4 separate regions of the Homo sapiens genome follow, and all the other regions are linked to region 4. Evidence: promoter capture Hi-C in human tissues and cell types (Jung and others, 2019). All regions are on one chromosome and are shown on one strand. Each heading gives the region's core, a stretch centred on a gene start or on the middle of the fragment in contact. The rest is flanking DNA. Distances are from core to core; before and after follow the strand shown. Region 1 has its middle 8.2 kb from the start of MIR802. Region 2 holds the start of MORC3 (MORC family CW-type zinc finger 3). Region 3 holds the start of CBR3 (carbonyl reductase 3). Region 4 holds the start of KCNE1 (potassium voltage-gated channel subfamily E regulatory subunit 1).

What was found. The method cuts DNA at HindIII sites, captures the fragments that hold promoters and counts their contacts. A contact is called where the count stands out against the background at its distance.
Region 1: a contact is called between a fragment that was not itself captured here and the fragment with the promoter of KCNE1 in region 4, in 1 of the 25 tissues and cell types used here (dorsolateral prefrontal cortex).
Region 2: a contact is called between the fragment with the promoter of MORC3 here and the fragment with the promoter of KCNE1 in region 4, in 1 of the 25 tissues and cell types used here (spleen).
Region 3: a contact is called between the fragment with the promoter of CBR3 here and the fragment with the promoter of KCNE1 in region 4, in 1 of the 25 tissues and cell types used here (spleen).

Annotation. Positions count from the first base shown.
Region 1 is chr21:35,727,254-35,730,655 of GRCh38, reverse strand. No RefSeq gene overlaps it. Among named protein-coding and RNA genes, the nearest start is that of MIR802, 8.2 kb to the right of the region's middle. The HindIII fragment of the contact is 4,135 bases long and covers 1-3,402 here.
Region 2 is chr21:36,318,688-36,321,901 of GRCh38, reverse strand. MORC3 (MORC family CW-type zinc finger 3) reads right to left here and starts at 1,705. Exons shown (of 17, transcript NM_015358.3): 1 at 1,599-1,705. The coding sequence starts at 1,637. RefSeq lists a silencer at 1,122-1,581. The HindIII fragment of the contact is 28,282 bases long and covers 1-3,214 here.
Region 3 is chr21:36,133,328-36,136,328 of GRCh38, reverse strand. It overlaps CBR3 (carbonyl reductase 3), which reads right to left and starts at 1,250. Exons shown (of 3, transcript NM_001236.4): 1 at 848-1,250. The coding sequence starts at 1,136. The region is part of intron 2 of CBR3-AS1 (CBR3 antisense RNA 1); the gene reads left to right. RefSeq lists enhancers at 276-445, 281-1,087, 1,088-1,895 and silencers at 596-765, 1,196-1,265. The HindIII fragment of the contact is 7,591 bases long and covers 1-3,001 here.
Region 4 is chr21:34,510,180-34,513,463 of GRCh38, reverse strand. KCNE1 (potassium voltage-gated channel subfamily E regulatory subunit 1) reads left to right here and starts at 1,254. Exons shown (of 4, transcript NM_000219.6): 1 at 1,254-1,437; 2 at 2,149-2,363. The HindIII fragment of the contact is 8,709 bases long and covers 1-3,284 here.

The DNA of each region.
Region 1 (3,402 bases), core at 371-2,870, 1.2 Mb before region 4:
ATTATTGTTATAATAAAATATTGTTTAGTACCTTGGTCTGCAGCGTAGCCATCTATTTCGAAGGGGGTTTTAAGTTTTGTAACATTGAGAGAGAAATTCAAAGCTTCATGCCTTTGAGCGTCAATCCCAAGGAGTTCCCCCTAGAGGTCTGGCATAGAAATGTGTTTGCCTCACCTGTAATTCCAGCACTTTGGGAGTCTGAAGCGGGCGGATCACCTGAGGTCAGGAGTTTGAGACCAGCCTTGGTAAACCTCGTTTCTACTAAAAACACAACAATTAGCCAGGCGTGGTGGTGGGCACCTTTAGCCCGGTGACTTGGGAGGCTGAGGTAGGAGAATCACTTGAACTCGGGAGGCAGAGGTTGCAGTGAGCCAGGATCACACCATGGCACTCCAGCCTGGGCAACAGAGCAAGTCTCTGTCTCAAAAAAAAAACAAAAAAAAAAAACAAAAATCAAAAACCAAAAACCAAACCAAACCAAAACAAAAAAAAATGAAAGAAAAGAAATGTGTTTGCCTGATTCAGTGGTGGCTCCAGGAGCAGCACGAGGAGGCAGAGTGCTCAGGACCAAGAGGATGCAACACACCATTTCCAAGATACTCATTTTCACCCATTTTGTCTGTGGATTTTTTGAGCCAACCTGGCTGACCTTTGAAGCTATTTCCTGATCAGGAAGACTGGAGAGATAAGAATGAGGCTGAGGACTGGAGTACAGTAGGCATCTATGATGCTGACCTGTCTCAGAAGATGGGAAGAAGCCACCTAGATGTGTGGATAATTATTTTCCCGAAATTAATTTTTTACCTGTTTTTTTCCCCCTTTTGTCTCTCCGCTTTCCAACTTTTCTTTAAAACATAATTTCAAACTGTAAGGTGTATATTTGTTAAACTTCTAGTGTGGAACTCATTTCAAATTACAGAAAAATTGCAATAGTAAAAATATTGAGAAGCACAACAAATACCCTTTATCCAGAATCACCTGTTGTGGACATTTTATTCCATTGGCTTTATCATTTGCTCTCTCTTTCCATACATACACATATACATGTATGCATAACATAGAAAAAATATATTTGTCTCCTTTGCAAGCAAGTTGCGTACACCATGGCCCTTTACCCCTAAATCCCTCAGAGTGTATTTCCTAAGACTAGGAATATTTATTCTTTTGCACAGCTGTAGTACGCTTATCAACTTTGGTAAATTTTGCCTCAATATAATACTCTTATTTACTGTCCATATTCCAGTTTTGTTAATTGACCCAACAATGTACTTATAACACTTTTTTTCCTTCAATAAGGACTCAGTCTAAGATTGTATTTAGTTATATGTCTCTAGTCTCTGTAAGGTATATTTTTTAAAGGGCAGAGCACTTTCAAGCACTAAAAGGATAATCTGTTTTTTTTTTTTTTTTGGAGACAAAGTCTCACTCTGTGGCCCAGGTTGGAGTGCAATGGCGCGATCTTGGCTCACTGCAACTTCCACCTCCCCGGTTCCAGTGATTCTCCTGCCTCAGCCTCCCGAGTAGCTGCGATTACAGGTGCCTGCCACCACGCCCAGCTAATTTTTGTGTTTTTAGTAGAGACGGGGTTTCACCATGTTGGTCAGGCTGGCCTTGAACTCTTGACCTCAAGTGATCCACCCGTCTCGGCCTCCCAAAGTGTTGGGATTACAGGCATGAGCCACCATGCCTGGCCAATCTTCCTTTCTTGCTCTTAATAACAGGAGCAAACACACTTGATCTACTTATGATATTCAATGCTCTAATTAAGAAAAAATAAAATGTTCATATCTTAAAAATGGCTAACTTTTTTGGGGTGCTGTTTAGAGGTGTTTAATTTTTCTAAGTTATCTAAAGTTTCTATTCTGGTGCTTCTGTTGCTATAAACTTCTCAAGGACAAGTGTTCTCTTCCTTCCTCAAGTTTAATTTGAAAAATGTGCAGTCACCAGCAAATGGAATTACAGGGAAATCTTTTAGTGTACAGATGGGAAAGCACACCCTTTTGGAATTCAGATTGAATCTGTGCTTTCCCAGGTTTGGTTTTCTCAGACAAATGCCACCTATTTTTACACAGGAAAAATTCTACCAGCAGTTATAAGTACCTCTCAAATTTTGGGCACAGCAAAGAAATTATAGTTGATCCTTGAACAATGTGGTGATTAGGGATGCTGACCCCCCTCCTCCACCAATGCAGTTGAAAATCCATGTATAACTTCACCAATAGCCTGCTCCTCAAAAACTTAACCAATAGCCTACTGTTGGCTGGAAGCCTTGCTGATAACACAGACAGTCAATTAGCACATATTTTGTATGTTATATATATATATTATGTACTGCATTCTCACAATAAAGTAAGCTAGAGAAGAGAAAATGTTATTAAGAAAAAGGTGGATGAAATACATTTACTATTCATTGAGTGGAAGTGGATCATCATAAAGGTCTTCATCTTCATCATGTTCATGTCGAGTAGGCTGATAAGGAGGAGGAAGTGGAGGGGTTGGCCTTGCTGTCTCAAGAGGGGCAGAGGCAGCAGAGATGGAGGAGGTGGAAGGGAGGTCAGGAGAGGAGGCATGTTCAGTGTAACTTTTACTGAAAAAGAGTCTGTATAAATGAACCTGCATAGTTCATACCCATATTGTGCAAGAGTCAACTGTACTGGAAAAACAAAACCCATAAAATCTCTTCCAAAGTGTTGAGCAAAGACATGGGAAACAATATTAAGGTTCGAGGTCTCTCTTTTCATTGGCAATAGCTTCTTTGGCTGTTTCTTCCACTCTTTATAACAGACTTCTTTAGAAGGGACCAGGGACTTTTTAGATTCAGCTTGCTACATGTTTTTATGAATTCCATAAACAGAAAGGGATGTGTGCATGGGTGGGAGAGGAGGGGAAAAAGAGGTAGAAGAGTGGTGGTCGTTCGCAGGAAGGCTTCTCTGACTGCTAAGAATGTATGAAATACTGCTCATAATAGTCACTATGCAAACTTAAATACACCTCAGTTAGCAATGAGCAATTTACCACACATTGGCTTCCAAACGTTGGCTTTCTTCAGAAGCCAACATATAGTAAATTGGAATGAGGTAGTTGAGGAGAGCAGGCTCTGGAAAATAAGGTGAATTATGGAGGGGAGATGGAGGAGGGTTAAGGGAAGGGTTCCTTTGCAATCTTTCAAAGTTTACTTGTTTCTTGAAGCCGTTATCAGTTTATCATTTATAAAAAAGGTAGAACTATAATAGGACCAAAAATGGGCTGTGTAGGGAGGATGCTAGCTTCCTCTTCAGAATGTGTGGAGTCACCTATAGTTCCAGCTACTTGGGAAGCTTAGGTGGAATGATCGCTTGGGCCTTGGGTTCAAGTCCAGCCTGGGCAACAGAGACCCTGTCTCTCTTTTTTTTCTTTTTTGTA
Region 2 (3,214 bases), core at 456-2,955, 1.8 Mb before region 4:
TCTCTGCTTCCTTTCTCCCCTCAATCTTGAAGAGCCAGAGTCTACAAGGGCCTGGGGGCGGGAAGGGAGAAGAGAATCAAAGGACAGAAACAGGAAATCAACTCACTCCGTTTCTCCACTACAGGTTTCTGGGCCTGAACAAGACTCAACCTCGAGAGAGGAAGGAGAGAGAAGTGGGGAAAGGAGATAGGGGAAAGAGAGGGGGAAAAGGGAGGGAGAGAGAATAGAGATTTTAAACTAGGTAAGGCCAGACTTTACAATACCTTAAGCTAATGGGAAAGCGTTAGTCAACCCAGATTCACACAAGTGGGGAATAATTAATGTTTACACTCAGTGGTTAAAAAAAAAAAAAAGAAAAAAAGAATAAAATTGTCCTCTATTTTCAAACTACTAAAGCCTAGCTCACTCAATAAGCTAGTTACATAACGAAAGGATGGACCTTTATCCAGAATACGTAAAGAACTCTTACAAATCAATAAAGATCCTCCCAAAAGAAAAACAGAAAATGGTCAAAGGATATGAATAGGCAATTCAAAAAAACAAAACAAAAAACCACAAAGACTAATACATGCGAAGAGCTCAACAACACAAACAGTCAAGGAAACGCAAGTAAAAGCAAATATCATTTCACAAATATCGGACTAGAAAAAATTTAAAGTCCGTCAAAACCAGGTGTTAGAATCTGCCTAAACGAATGAAAGTCCCAGAGCAATGCACCAATTATTCACTACGTGTTTGTACCCCAAGGAGTCACTACCCATTCGAATGTTAAAATTAGTGGCACTAGGGCAGTCATTCTTTGGCAAAAGTCAACAACCTCCAGAAAAGAGGAACATTTCAGCATAACATCAACTGCGCTCACAAGGTAGAAAAGTTTTTTAGGATAATCAGGTGGGGAAGCCACGCCCACATTTCCTGGACGTGAGATTTCAAGTTATCTTGTGTGACCGCTCCCTACGATTTAAGATACAAGAAATGTTCACAGGGTTTCCAAGAACTCGAAACGCCCCAAAACAGACGCAACGCGGGATAAAGAGGAGAGCTCGAGCTCAGCGATCTAGGGTCTGGGCCCCAAGGCTTCCACTGCCAAGGAAGCTGCAGGCACTGACAGGCATCAGGCACACTCATCCTGACTCCACTCGCCCGCAGGCAGGCCCGCAGCCCCGTCCCCCCGCCCCCGGGACGTCGAGGCCGCCGGCGTTTCTGGACGCGGAACCCGCTCCCTCCCACCACGACGCCCAGCGGACAGAAGAGGGTCAGGGGCCCCGCGGCCCCGAGAGCAGACCGATCTCCCGCCGAGGCCTCGCCCGCGGACGACAGCTGCTGGGAGACTAGGAGGGAGCTGGGAGGAGGAGCCGCGACCCTGGCCCGCCCCGAAGCAAAACAGAAACACAATGCAGAGGCGACGGAACGCAGCCCGGCCCGCAGCCGAGCTGTTCCGCCGACGGGAGCGAGATGGCCGCCCCCTCCCCGGGCCCCGCCGCAGCCCCCGCCGCCGCGTCGGCCCCACAAGCCGCCACCGCCCACTGCCGGCCCCCCTTCGCTTGCCCGCCCGCCCTCCTGGGACACGGCCCGCTCCACCCCTCGCGGCTGCTCACCGCGCTGAGGCGTATCCCGCGGGGTGGCTGCGCCGCCATCTTGAGCGAGCTACAAAGCCAGGAACGGCCTCCGCCGCAACCCGACTGGGAGGTGGCGGAACGACTGTGGAGCCCTATGGGTACCGCCCACTTCCGGGGAGGGGCGCACGTCTGGCCCCTCCCACCCACTTCCGCCTCCAGGCAATGCCGAATTGGGAGCTTGGGGAAGATGAATTGCCTGACTGGTTAAAGCAGGGTACAGTGGGAGCTGAGCTTCCAGCGCGGGGCCCTGCGGGCCTAGGGCGCATGCGCGAGGCGCGGCCGGCCCGTACCCGTCTCGACACCCAGCTGGAGCTCGAGACTCGGGGATCTAGAGTTTGAAGCCTGGCGCGAGATGCGGTATACCCGAGACCGGTGAACTCCAGTCACTTGACCTGGTCGGATGTGAATTGCGCAGAAAAAAGCCATTCCATATCCACCAGTGTCCATGTGAAACCTTAACGAAATAAAGACGGAAATTAATGTAGACTGTTTGGATTTGCCCTGAAAACTATCAATCTAACTCATGATTTAAAAAAAAAAAAAAGAGTTCTGGGGCCGGGCGCGGTAGCTCACGCTTGTAATCCCAGCACTTTGGGAGGCCGAGGTGGGCGGGCGGATCACCTGACTTCGGGAGTTCGAGACCAGCCTGACCAACATGGAGAAATCCCATCTCTACTAAAAATACAAAATTAGCCGGGCGTGGTGGTACATGCCTGTAATCCCAGCTACTCGGAAGGCTGAAGCAGGAGAATGCTTGAACCCAGGAGGCGGAGGTTGCAATGAGCCGAGATTGCGCCATTGCACTCCACCCTGGGCAACAAGAGTGAAACTCCGTCTCAAAATAAATAAATAAGAGTCCTAAAGGCATAAGGCCGGTGCAGTGGCTCATGCCTATAATCCCAACACATTGGGAGGTCGAGGTTGGGGGTTCACTTGATAGGGGTTCAAGACCAGCCTGGCCAACATGGTGAAACCCCATCTCTACTAAAAATACAAAAATTAGCTGGGCATATTAGTGGGCGCCTGTAATCCCAGCTACTCGGGGGGCTGAGGCAGGAGAAGTGGGTGAACCCAGGACAAGGAGGTTGCAGTGAGCCCAGATCGCGCCACTGTACTCCAGCCTGGGCGACAGAGTGAGACTGTCTCAAAAAAATTAATTATTTTTAGAAAGAGAAATTGGCTGGGTGCAGTGGCTCATGTCTGTAATCTCAGCACTTTGAGAGGCTACATTGCGAGGGTCTCTTGAACCCAGGAGTTCGAGACGAGCCTGGGCAACACGAGGAGACCTCATCTTTACAAAAAAAAAATTGAATTAGCTGGCAGGGCGTGGTGGCTCACACCTGTAATCCCAGCACCTTGGGAGGCTAAGGCGGGCAGATCACTTGAGGTCGGGTGTTTGAGACCAGCCTGACCAACATGGCGAAACCCCATCTCTACTAAAAATACAAAATTAGCCGGGTGTGGTGGCACATGCCCGTAATCCCAGCTACTGGAGAGGCTGAGGCAGGAGAATCACTTGAACCCAGGAGGTGGAGGTTGCGGTGAGCCAAGATCACACCACTGCACTCCAGCCGGGACAACAAGAGCGAAACTCC
Region 3 (3,001 bases), core at 1-2,500, 1.6 Mb before region 4:
AGTAACTTTTTTTTTTTTTTCATACGGAGTCTCGCTCTGTCTCCCAGTCTGGAGTGCAGTGGCGCGATCTCGGCTCACTGCCTCCCAGGTTCAAGCGTTTCTCCTGCCTCGGCCTCCCAAAGTGCTGGCATTACAGGCGTGAGCCACTGCGCCCTCCTGTAATTTTCTTCAGTAGTAGTTAGAATAAGCAATCTCTTGATCCCCGCCCCTCTCCTTAAGGAAGATGCTTTTAAGACCACACGCACGTATTTTATAACAAACATAAGCTCCCCGGGCGGGGGTGGGGGAACGAGAAGGCTCGCTTCCTTTTTGCCAGAGCCTATCAAAGCTCTGCATTACACAAATTGTCAAGTCCACCAAGGGCAAGCGCGCGCTAATCCTGTTTTAGCGATTCATTTCCTTTCCCGAGCAAATGCCTCCGGGCATCTATGAATGCGCCCTTTCAAGGAAAGCGAAAGCCCAAAGCGAGCGGAGACCGTTTCTTTGCAGAGAAAATGTTTCTCGCGTTGGAAGGAAAGCTGATGAACTCTAGCAGGGCGTTGCCCCCTCCCAGGAGGCCAGTTTTCCTGCACACAACAGCGGCTGACAGTTCGGGGAGGGCCCCGGGCCGCGCACAGGCCCTCACAGGCCGGCGGGCGGGGCGCGCTGTTTGTCGCCCGGGCCCGCCTGGGGCTCAGCGAATCACGGAAAGCGAAAACCGCCTCGCGGGAGGCGTGGGCTGAGCGCATCCCTAGGGGTCGGCGCCACCCTCCTCGGTCACTCAAGTGGACGGGTGGGGAGCCTGCGGCTGGCCACCTCCGCACCCTCGGAGCGCTCCAGGGGGCCCCAACCCAAGCCCTGCACCTACTCTTGAAGGCGACGGCCGCGTTGTTGACCAGTACGTTGAGCCCCCCGTACTCCTTGCGCAGGAAGTCGCGCAGGGCGCGGATGCTCTGCAAGTCGTCGATGTCCAGTTGGTGGAAGCGCGGGCTCAGGCCCTCCGCCTGCAGCTGCTGCACGGCCGCCTGGCCCCGCGCCACGTCCCGCGCGGTGAGCACCACATCCCCAGAGAACTGTCGGCACAGTTCGCGCGCGATGGCCAAGCCGATGCCCCTGTTGGCCCCGGTCACCAGCGCCACGCGGCTGCAGGACGACATGGCTGAGCGGGGAGCGCGGGGCACCTGCGTGGAGGGCGGACCGGGCTTCGGACCACCTGGGGCGCGCCCCGAGGAGCCCAGCTAGTGTCAATGCCGCCGCGCAGACTAAGTTCTGGGATCCAGTGCTGCGAGTCTTAAAGAAAAAGGCCCCGGCTCCGGTCCCTCCCCTCCGAGGAGGGGCCGTCTGTGCCCTCTGTTCCAACTCCCGGGCCCGCCCCCTGCCCACGCTGCGCCCTTCAGGATCCGGGCTCTGAGCCGCGGGGTGATCTGCGAGGTGTCCGAAGCCAAATCGGACCTTGATGGGTCAGTCGGGGGCTCCAGATTCTTGGCAACTGGACTGAAGAAATTATTTTGGGAAAACCCCAAAGTGAGAAAAACAAGTGCTGAGTAATTTTCTTGGGTGTGCGCCCATCATGCACTGCAAAATGCGAATGTTTGCTTTTTCCTAAGATGCAGTGACTTACTTAGACACAGTAACTGCTTCTCTGGACATAGGTTGCCTTGCTTGCTTAAAAGGAACTCAAGAGAGGGAACTAGATGCCCTGTGAGCGCACTTAGCAGGTGTGGGCAGGCGACATCGCTCTGGGATTCCCAGTGAATGTGCCCCCAAGTGGGAGGGAATGTTTTTATTTAATCCTACCTAACTCCTACGGGTGCTAAAAGTGTCTGCATTTAGGTTTGTCCAGGGAGGATATAGATCTATAAAGATCTGGATTGATCATATGTTCTCACAGATCTGTGTACCGGCAAAGAAAGTTAAACCAAATTCCCAAAGGTGTGTCAAGCTGTGGGCACAAAATTAGAGTCTCATCCATCGTCTTCAGTGTAAACTGAGTTGTTTGATCAGTGACTTTGAGATTTGGGGAGAACCATGACATCATCACGACTCAGCCTTTTCCATGCAGAGCTGGCTAACCCGCCTGTGTCTCTGTTACTCTGACTCTACCTTCTCTCTCAAGTCCTTACTTGAGGTTCCGGAGGTGGGCCCCTGCTGTGATCTCCTACTGTGCCTCCCCCAGTATTTCCTTCTTTTTTCTCCTAAAGATCATTTGGTCCGGGCGCGGTGGCTCACACCTGTAATCCCAGCACTTTGGGAGGCTGAGGCGGGTGGATTACGCGGTCAGGAGTTCAAGACCAGCCTGACCAACATGGTGAAACCCCCATCTCTACTAAAAATACAAAAATTACCTGGGTGTGGTGGCACGTGCCTGTAATCCCAGCTACTTAGGAGGCTGAGGCAGGAGAACTGCTTGAACCCGGGAGGCGGAGGTTGCAGTAAACCGAGATTGCACCACTGCACTCCAACCTGTGCAACAGAGTGAGACTTTTCAAAAAAAAAAAAAAAGATCATTTGGAACCTTGTTTTAAGGATATGGGGCTATTTAGGCTTTCTATTTCTGTTTTTTTTTTTTTTTTTTTTTTTTTTAATAGGGTCTTCTCTGTCGCCCAGGCTGGAGTGCAGTGCTGCAGTCGTGGCTCACTGTAGCGTCAGTCTCCTGAGCTCAGGTGATCCTCCCCTTTAGCCTCCCTAGTAGCTGGGACTACAAGTGTGCCACAGTCATGCCTGGATAATTTTTTTTTTTTTTTTTTTTTTGAGACGGAGTTTTGCTCTGTCACCCAGGCTGGAGTGCAGTGGCACGATCTTGGCTCACTGCAACCTCCGAATCCTGGGTTCCAACGATTCTCCTGCCTCAGGCTCCTGAGTAGCTGGGATTACAGGCGCTGCCACTACACCCAGCTAATTTTTGTATTTTTAGTAGATACAGGGTTTCACCATGTTGGCCAGGCTGGTCTCGAACTCCTGACCTCGTGATCCACCCGCCTTGGCCTCCCAAAGTGCTGGGATTACAGGCGTGAGCCACCAC
Region 4 (3,284 bases), core at 5-2,504:
ACAGGGAAAAAGAGAGAGAGAGAGAGAGAGAGACCCTGTCTGTGGTAGGTTATGGTCATCAGTGAAAAAGAACAAAAACCTTTGTTTTAAAACTCTCCTCAAAACAGATGATTGGCTAGAGGGTGCGGCACAAAGGAACTTGTCAGGGTGATGGAGACATTCTGTATCTGGATTGAGCAATGCAAGAACCTGGGTAAAGACACAGTCATGGTAACAGCTGTATACATCTGTTGAAAACTCATCAAACTTATCATATTTAGAAAGGGTACATTTTGCTTCATGTAAAGTATGCCTCAATAAAGTGTACTTGATTTTAAAATCAGGATAAAGGAAAAAAACATTGATCTTGGATAATGGGCAGGGGTTGGGGAGAAGGTCTTAATTATCATCATATCCTTTTAAAAACGTTTTTCAAGTGTGTGATGCTCTGATGACATTCTTAAGACACAGCAAGGCAAAGCAGTATCCCAAATGAGAGAGTGAGCATTCCAATAAATATTTTCTGTAAGACACTGATATGTCTATGACTATTTGCTAAATTTAAAAATCAACTTGGACCATATTTACTCCCTTAAAGTCTAATAGACGACTAATTTCTTCTATGTTCAGAACAAATATGTTGCTACTTTAAGAACAGCATACATAGGTGTGGTCGGCCCTCTGTGTCTAAGGCTTCTGCATCTGTGGATTCAACCAACAATGGACTGAAAATATTCCAAAAATAAAATAAAATTAATGAAACAACAACAAAAATAAAACAAATAAAAAAATGCCAGGTAACAACTACTTACAAAGCATTTACATAGTATTAGGTGTTAGAAGTAATCAAGAGATGATTTAAATCACCATCTATGATTGGCTGATATGCATAGGTTATATGCAAATACTATGCCACTATATATAAAGGACTTGAACATTCGCAAATTTTGGTATCTGCAGGGGATTCTGGAACCAAACCCCATGGATACCAAGAGACAACTATATATAAAATACTGAAAGAGGCATGGAGAGTGATTTTCAGGCCTCTACCTAAAGCCCTGAATATTAGAAATTACTGAATTTCTTCTCAGGAAGGAAATTACGCCATAAACCAGTGTTGCCACACACCCAGAGAACAAGATGACCCGACGCCCCAGCCTGGTCATGCCACATGAGCTGAGCAGTGGGTAGGCCACTGAGCCAGTGATAGAAATCACAAATTACAAAACGTCAGAGTACTTTCTGGAAATAAGCCTTCCTCTCCAGGGAACAACGCATTTGACACTTGACTGGGATACACTACCGGATCCTCCGAGGGTGATGGTTCTCAAGAAGGCAGAAGCAATGGTGACCAATAGACCTCCTTAAAGGCTGAGCCGCTGGGCACCTTCCTACTCCTCTCGACCGTGCTAGGATGACTGCAGCAGAGTCCCCGAGTCCTTTGATGCAAGGGTCTAGGTGAGTTCGAAGGAGAGCCATACTAGGCCAGGCAGAAAGGCCCATGGTGATGGCTGTCCACCCTGGTCAGGGGAATTCTAGGTTCAGGCCATGCGGCAAGGTCACCTTGAGGGACATGCTTTGCTCTAAGCTCAGCTTAAGTGTGTCTGAACCCCCCTCACTTCTTCCAACTGCAGAAGCACATGGAGAAGGGGGAGAAAGGGTTGCCCACCTCCTAAAATGAGGGCAGCGTGGTGAAGAGCCCCATCATGCCCCACCAAGGTCCTGTGTGCAGGGCAGGGCAGTGCCTATCCAGAAGGCCAGACCTCTAACTGCTGCTCTGTAGGACGTCCGGGCCTCACATGCAGGCTCCTATAAGCTGGCTGTCTTGGCAAGAGGGCCCTGGTACAGCACTGTGTTCATCACAGAAAACCACACCGTACATAATTTGTAACAGACAGAAATGCATTTGGCTCATGGTTCTGGAGACTGGGAACCCAGGATGGAGGGGCCACATCTGGCAAGGGCCTTCTTGCCATGACATGGTGGAAGGTATCACAAGGTTGGGGAAGGAGGGGTGGGCGGGGCGGGAAGAGAGAGAGAGAGAACAAGAGAGAGAGAATCCATTCATAAGGGTGGAGCCCTCATGACTAAACACCTCCCATTAGGTCCCACCTCCCAACACTGTTGCTTTGGGGATTAAGTTTCCAGCTGGCTTTTTTCAAACCTTAGCAACCACCAAACAGACAAGCCCTTCGGCCTGTCCTGGAGGGCGTTGAATGGCATGGCCTGGAGCTCAACCAGGAGAACCGTGCTCAGGAGGAAGAGACCAGAAGGATAACTCAAAAAGTTCTGAGAAGTTCCTAAGACCACCTGAAGAGAAGGAGCCTGCTGCCAATGGTGTGGACACCGCAGTGTGCTTGAGGAGACTTCAGAAACGAGAACTGGTAGGAGAAGGGGGTTGCACAGACCCTTTCCTCAGTTAGGCACCCTCTGCTCCCACCCTCATGCCCACCCTGACATCAGGCTAAGGGAGAGGCGCTCATCCATTGACAGGTGCCAGGCTGTCCTGGGCCTGGCAAACCCTGGCCTTGTACACCCACTCTCCACACGTCTGCCCCCACCCTCCCAGGGGCAGGGCCGGGCTTCCCTGCAGAGACACAGGGCAAAGAGGGAGAGAGAAGGCCTCAGGCCAGGGCATGGCCTAGTGCCTCCCAGCGCCAGGTCCTGACAGCCTGAGAGAGCTGGAATCAAGGAAGGTGATCCTGGGCCCCAGACAGACGTCAGTGAGCTTCAGCCTCTGGTGGCTGCACACCAGCCAGGGCAGCAGCGCCCCCTCCTGCCTGTGTTCAGCTGTGTGGGCTGCAAGAGGACTAAGGAGAGTTTCAAGGAGGCAGGCAGTGGGGGAGGAAGTGTCCCAGGTAGAGGCTGAAGCTTTAAGGAGGATGGGAGGGGAGGCTTCACCCGGAAGGAGCTTTTGGAGCAAGGGCCTGAAGGAAATTGGGGAGAGAGCCTGAGTATCTTTGGTAACTGGGAAGAGAGCATTCCAAGCAAAGGGAAAAGAAGAGAGGCTGTCAGACAAGTGTGCACCCACCATGTCTGGGCACATCGAGAAGGACCCTGTGGCTGGAGGGGAGGAAGGAGGGGAGAATGGAAAGTGAGACCAGAGGTGACCTGACCAGGGCCTTCGGAGCCCCGGTGAGGGGCTCAGCGGGTGGGTGTCATGGGTGTGAAGAGGTAGGTCCCTCATCACCAGTCAGCAAAGCGTTCCCTGGGCTCAGCTGAAGTCCTGCTGGAGTGTGTGCCCCCTGGACTGGAGGGGATGGGATTGGTGGGAATAAAGTTGTGAGTTTGGAGTTGTGGTGAGC